Linked DNA regions of Homo sapiens: region 2 is linked to region 1. Evidence: promoter capture Hi-C in 16 types of primary human blood cells and fetal thymus (Javierre and others, 2016). All regions are on one chromosome and are shown on one strand. Each heading gives the region's core, a stretch centred on a gene start or on the middle of the fragment in contact. The rest is flanking DNA. Distances are from core to core; before and after follow the strand shown.

Region 1 (3,395 bases), core at 49-2,548:
GAGTGTTATAGCAGAGATGGGGTGATATGTCCCTCTTCCAGAACCTCACACTAAATTAACCTCACAGCTGACTTGCTTCCCCATTGAGCCGAGCCTTTGTGCTTTAGACACACACACACTCCTCTCACCTTTTGCCCAAAGGATGCTACAAAGGCCCAGCCTTAAGACAAAATACTTCTAAATACTTGGGCGTGTGAGGGGAGGGAGGGCAGAGAGACACAGGTCCCACTCCAGATTCTCCCACTACTAGCTGTGTGACCTTGGGTGAGTCATTTCACCTCTTCTGACACTCAATTTTTTTATTTGTAAAACTGGGATACACATCTTTATCGCGAAGCTTCTTTGCATACCGAGCTGGGGTATGCAAAGTGCTGGGCACTGAACCTCCACGGGCACGCGCGGGCGCGGGACCGCTGATCTGTTCCCACAATTACCATGTATTTTCCAGTAAGGCCTCCTCCTACCCCGTTAACCTGCTCCGGATCCCCTCACTCCGGTCCCAGAAATTCTGGGGCGATTTTAACTAGGGGGCGATGCGATCTGCAGCAGCGACTCCGAGGGGGCGAAGGAGTCCCCAGTGGAGCGGACACCAGAGGGGGGCGCAACCGGGGTGCGCGTGGGAACGTGGCCAAAGCACGGCAGCATGTGCCGCGGGGGCGCTGGGAGGCTGGAAACTGGGGTGCCCCTGAGAGCACCCCTCACTCTCGGCAGCTGCAGTCTTGGCACCACGGGTGGCTTCTGACCGTCGGAAGCCCTGGCGAGCCCGGCTCCAGTCACCCCCACCCAGGTCGCCTTGAGTTTGCTCATCAGCGCCCTCGGGCTGGAACAAAGGCGAGGGGGCGCGCGGCATCGCCCCAGCGGCCCTTTTTGCGCATCTGGCCAAAGCCGGGAGAATGAGGACTGGGGTCCCCAAGGTAACCAGGACGCGGTACCCGCCCTCCCGGGGCGCAAAGCCCAGCCGCGGGGCGCGCGCCGAGCTGAGGTCCGGGAGGTACCGGAGACTCCAGCCCGCTGCGAGCCGAGGGCTCCAAGGGCCGTGGGGTAGCTCTCCAGAGTCACCCAGCGGGTCCCCCGGAGGAGAGAAGCCCGGCGCCCGCCTCCCGGGCAGGGCTCCCCGGCGTACCTGGCAGGGTCCGGTGCACCGTGTTGCCCATCGCTGCGTCGGGCGCGGCGTTGGCGGCGGCGCGCTCTGGGCGCGCGGAGGCTAATTACGCGGCGGGCCAGGGACCAGGACCGGGGTCGACGCTCCGGGGCATCGCAGCTGCACGGGCGAGCCGGCGGGCGGCAGCTGGGGCGGGAGCCGGGAGGGAGGCGGCGGCGGCGCCTGCGGGAGGAGGAGGCGGAGCCACCGGCCCGGGCCCGCCGGCTCCGCCCCCGCCTCCCACCGCCTCCAACAGTGCAGGGGCGGGGCCGCGGCCGCCGCATCTTTTGAAAGTTTGCACCAGGCGGCGGGAGAAGCACAGCCAAGCCTCCCGCCCTCGCCGCTCCCGCGCCCGGGCCGGGAAGGCGCGCAGGGCAGCTGGGTGCCCTCGGGTGCCAGGATCGGCAGTCTGCTGGCCTGTCACCCATTTGTTCTAACACTTTGAGAAGGCCCACTGTGTGCCAGGCCCTCTTCCAGGCGCGGGGCCCCAGCCGGCCGAGTCCTAGCCCCGGCAGACCTCTTTGGAGAGTGCTTCGGCCCCGGGGGAACTTACACAGAGGCAGACGGGCCCCTGGGACCATGTAAAGGGCTTGGAGACAGTACACCCAGGGTTCCCGGGTTTGGGTGGAGTCTTTTCTATCCCCTAGGCCAGGTACCGAGGAATAGAAGAAACCCAGTGTCCAAAGATTGGGAAGAGGGAACCCACATTCATTAATTTATTCGCTCATTCACTAAAATATTTATTGAGCACAGTCTATGCACCAGGCACTGTGCTGGGCCGGGTAGATACAGACAAGGTCCCCACTGCCCTGGAGATGGCATGCTGAAGATAGAAATAACAAGCAATTACGATCACATTATATAATAATCAAAGCCAGGAAGAAAATAAAACAGATCCCAGTAGAGTGAGGAGATGACATTGTTTGGGGGCATAGGGAGAATCTGGGGTGGGGGCACATAAGCTCCATCTGATGGACTAGAAGGCGTCGGCCATGAGAAGAGATAGGTAGAGTGTTCCTGGCAGAGGCAGTAACAGGCATTCCTCATTCAGGCACCTGGACCACACTCAGTGGGAAGTGCAGCTGTGCCCTTCTCGAGCTCCATTTCACAGGCTGGAACGCTGAGGCCCAGGAAGTGCAATGACTTCCCCAAGAAGACCCGATTCCAAATGAGCTGTTTTTTTCAATTCTATTTTTCATGCTCTTGTATCCCTTGAGACTTTATGAAATATGTATTATTACTTCCATTTCACAGATAGGGAAATTGAGGCTCTGAGAGTGGAAGAGAGGTGCCCAAGATCTTCCAATGGTACAGGGCAAAGCTAGCCTGAAGCTATGCGAATAAAAGCGGGGTATTCAGGAGACAGCCTTCTGCATCTCCGGTGCCTTCTGCTTACAGTACATGACCCATCCCAGAGGGTTCTAGGGTCTTTAAGGCCAGCTCCAAGCTTCCACTTCCGGGAAACCTTGATTCCCCACTCCCCCCTGACGTCATATGTCTGAACATAAGATTGCCTTGCATTTGAGTTACTAATTTCTCATATTACAGGTGCTCGCCCAGTGACTTAATTTTTAACCCCAAAGTTCTGTTTGAGAAAGGTCCGTTAGCGTGATCCTTTTTTTTTTTCTTTTTTTTTTTGAGACAGAGTCTCACTCTGTCACCCAGGCTGGAGTGGAATGGCACAATCTTGGCTCACTGCAACCTCTGCCTACCAAGTTCAAGCAATTCTCCTGCCTCAGCCTCTTGAGTAGCTGGGATTACAGGCACCCACTACCACGCCCCGCTAATTTTTGTATTTTTAGTAGAGATGGGATTTCATCATGTTGGCCAGGCTGGTCTCAAACTTCTGACCTCAAGCGGTTCCCCCACCTCAGCCTCCCAAAGTGCTGGGATTACAGGCCTAAGCCACCTCACCTGGCTGATCCTCCTTTAATCTATGTGACATTGGGTTGCATATGGAGGTCAGCAATATTATAAAGGGAATTGAGGGAATTTTCCTCAGATAAGGCAATGCAAACAAATATGACTTTGTGACGGCAAGGGTGAGAGGTTGTGAACAGGCCTTTTAAAGGCCACTTTCAGAGTACCTCAGTAAGTGGCCATGTTGTGCAGATCACAAATACTCACCTGCAGCAAATGAATCCCTACTGTCAAAATGTGATGCGGATTGGACCTGCGGTGGAGACACTGTGCCCAGCAGTTGCCTGACATGTGGATTCGAAAGGGCTGTGTGTTAGCCTCTGGATCTCTGAGA
Region 2 (3,366 bases), core at 482-2,981, 110 kb after region 1:
TGGTTTCTGATTTTGACTGTTATTGTGTTTCCTGATTCTTGATCCCCCCTAGATCTATTTTGTTCTGCCCACTTATCAAGCCTGAGTCTACAGCCTCCCATCAATTCTATGAGCCCTGATATGCCTTCTAAAAGTCCCCTTTCTCTTTAAAAGTCAATTTCTGCAGCTTCCAATCAAGAACCCTTACTCTAAACCATTAATTTGATTTTAGCTTGTAGGTTTACAAATATTAGATAAATAAAATAATAGCTAATATTTGCTGAGGCTTTTCTGTGTGTCTGGCACTATGCTCAATCATATCTGTTTTTTAATTTATTCCTCACAATAACTAGGTGAGGTAGATATTATTACCAGCACCATGTTGCATACACAAAATGGAGGTTGCTGCAAAGTTAAGTCATTTGATTTAACTTTTCTACAGCTTGGAACTGGTAGAACCAAGATTTGAACTAAATTCATCCAATGAAAGATCTCTCATTTTTAACTAATACAGTCTATTGCCTGGTAACACATTAAATATGCACTTCAATTATAAGATGCATTCTAATTTCAGAAACATAAACTCCCACACCATTCTAAAATACAGTATATACATACTAGTTTTCACTCTGGGAATTTGCTGGTGGGGCACTGCTGGCAAAAAAAAAAAAAAAAAAAAAAAAAAAGATGGAGTCATTTTCAAGCTTAGAAGCCAAGTTTCTCCTAAGCCAAAAATATTTCCATTAAATTCCTGTCATAGTGCCTGAAATTCCCACCATTCCATCTCCTTGCATTAGGGCATTCTATCCTCAGAAGTCCCTTGTGAAAGTGTGAACATGTTACTTGACAAGACAGTCAAAAGCATATTTTCTTCAATTGTCCAAAATATTCCCCCAGGAACTTCTTCTCCTGGTAACAAATCTTAGCCCCGTTTCCCATAAAGGCAGCACGTGATTCAGTCTGGACCAATCTTAGCATTCCATTCCCCTGGCCACTGACTGGTCCAGAGAAGGACATGTGACCCAAAGCGGGCCAATCAGAGATCTTCTCTGGGATTTTTTTTCTGACAAGATTTGCAGGAGAAACTCTTCTTGTCCCTTGGGCCATGGACCTGGAAGGGTATGAAGCCACAGAGCCCAGAGCTAGAGCCAAAGCCAGAGAAAAGGGCAAAGCTGGGAGTAGCGAGTGGCACATGAGGCCCTAAGACCAGCTCCATTCCCAGCCTTTCCTCAGACTGGCTATGAGGAGCCAATAATATCTTTTGGCGTAATCCCATTTGAGTTTGGTTTCTGTTCCTTGCAAACAACCTCACATCAGTTGGCTCCTACTGACACAAGCTCCTGAAATGGCAGAACACTGGACAGATAAATTTAGGAGAAAGGGAAGATATCAGGCATGGGCTTGAGGGGGGACAGGGCTGGAGGAGTGGACAAGACCAGGGACAAACCAAGCAGCCTCTCTACAAACTTTTGTGAGAACCTCAAAGCCAAACAGCAAGAAGTTCCATCAGCTAAAACCAGCTCCTCTACCAGCAGGTGTGATAAATGTGCAGGGTAACTTTCTTAAATACCTTCCCCTCTTTCCTATTCCATATGAAACAAGCATTCGTTGCAAGCTCCTTCTCTTTGAGCAGAAGCCCTGGAGTGAGGACACCTGGTCCAGCTCAGTTGCGTGCCCTGGATCCAACCACTTCCCCTCTTCAGAACTCACCGGAAAAACAGGAATAATGACTGCTTCCTTCCAGAGTCATTACCAGGATGAAGCAAAATAGCACACTGATGCGTTACACCCCAGGAGACTCTCAATATGTGGAGGTCATTTGGAGAGAAGGTTTCTCTCTAGGAAAGCTATCCCAGACACACAGAATGGGTGTGGGGAGCAGAAAAGTGCACAGGCTGACCTGAGACAGGTTCAGCCCAGCACCACAGAGTTGGGAGGTGTGTATTTTCTTATTTTCTGTATGCTTGATGCTCTGGCATCTGTGGCCCCACTGAGGGAGGAGAGACTGCCCTTCCCAGGGCTAGCCAGTTTTTAGAAATAGCAAACAAGTGTGCCTTCCTTACAAGCGTCCCTTCCATATGCATGTCAATCAATTTAGCCCAACTGGACTTTATCTTTTTTCCAACTACCCATCAAACTCTTCCCATATCAAGCCCCTTCTTCCCATATCCTCCTGCCCTAATCAATCCAGGGCCGAGTATCAGACTATGAGAGGCAGTCCCTACACCTGGGAGCCCACTGAAATTATTCAAACCGGCCAGTCCTAAACCTGCTTAACCTGTCTCACCCATTTTTTCCCATGGAAACCACAATCAATACTTTTGGACAACCCCTTCCCTCACTCCTTCTACCTCCTGCTGAACCTTGGCGCTTCCCCATGTGGCCTTGCACGGCGTGCGATGCCTCCTGTTTCTAGGGACCTAGAATGCTTTAAACAATTGCTTTTGCAAATTAAGACAATTTATAATATCCCGTGTGGAGGAAGGGGCGGAGAGATAGGTACTCCGGTGCCCTGCTGGAAGTTGTGTAAGTATAAACACTTCGTCCTTCGTGACAGTCGTGGGTCTTACCATACCTAATTTAGACAAATCCTGGGTACGTTTTAAAACAGAAGGTGTAAGTTCAAATCCCACCTGCCCTACTGCTCACCTGCAGTGGGACTAGGCCAAGCATTTCCTCTCTCTGAGCCTCAGTTACTGTATTGAGAAAAATAAGGGCAAGAATCATAACCACTTCGTGTGGCTCTTGGGAGGAATCATGGAAACCAGGAACAAAAGAAACCCCACACACTGTAAGCTTGAAACCACTGTGTCCGTATGAGCTAGTATTATGTAAGACTTCACCAGGAAAAGGGAGCAGCCCTGCTGAGCACAAGGAACAGGGGAGGCTTCAGGTTAAGGCCATAGATCGAGATGGGGCCCCATAGGTAGAGATGGTTAAGGCCATAGATAGAGATGGCCCCATAGATAGAGATGTTTAAGGCCATGGATAGAGATGGCCCCACAGATAGAGATGGTTAAGGCCATAGATCGAGATGGCCCCACAGATAGAGATGGTTAAGGCCATGGATAGAGATGGCCCCATAGATAGAGATGGTTAAGGCCATGGATAGAGATGGCCCCATAGATAGAGATGGCCCCACAGATAGAGATGGTTAAGGCCATCGATAGAAATGGCCCCATAGATAGAGATGGTCATGGTTAAGGCCATACATAGATTGAGATGGCCCCATAGATAGAGATGGTTAAAGCCATAGACAGAGGTGGCCCCAGCGGGAACACACCCCTGATTCCTTCACTACCAGGGAGCAGAGCAGCCACCGAGGAAGACAGGAGAGTTCTCAGCCACGCAGAGAGGACCACAGGACCGGGAAGCAGCAGCCCCAAA

Evidence for each region. The method cuts DNA at HindIII sites, captures the fragments that hold promoters and counts their contacts. A CHiCAGO score of 5 or more calls a contact.
Region 2: a fragment that was not itself captured here is called in contact with the fragment with the promoter of NEURL1B in region 1 in 1 of 17 cell types (endothelial precursors); the score reaches 5.2 in endothelial precursors.

Annotation. Positions count from the first base shown.
Region 1 is chr5:172,639,166-172,642,560 of GRCh38, reverse strand. NEURL1B (neuralized E3 ubiquitin protein ligase 1B) reads right to left here and starts at 1,298. Exons shown (of 5, transcript NM_001142651.3): 1 at 1,124-1,298. The coding sequence starts at 1,154. RefSeq lists a silencer at 1,247-1,536. The HindIII fragment of the contact is 2,251 bases long and covers 340-2,590 here.
Region 2 is chr5:172,526,159-172,529,524 of GRCh38, reverse strand. All of the region lies in intron 1 of LOC105377727 (a long non-coding RNA gene), which reads right to left. Among named protein-coding and RNA genes, the nearest start is that of LINC01944, 31 kb to the left of the region's middle. The HindIII fragment of the contact is 2,092 bases long and covers 686-2,777 here.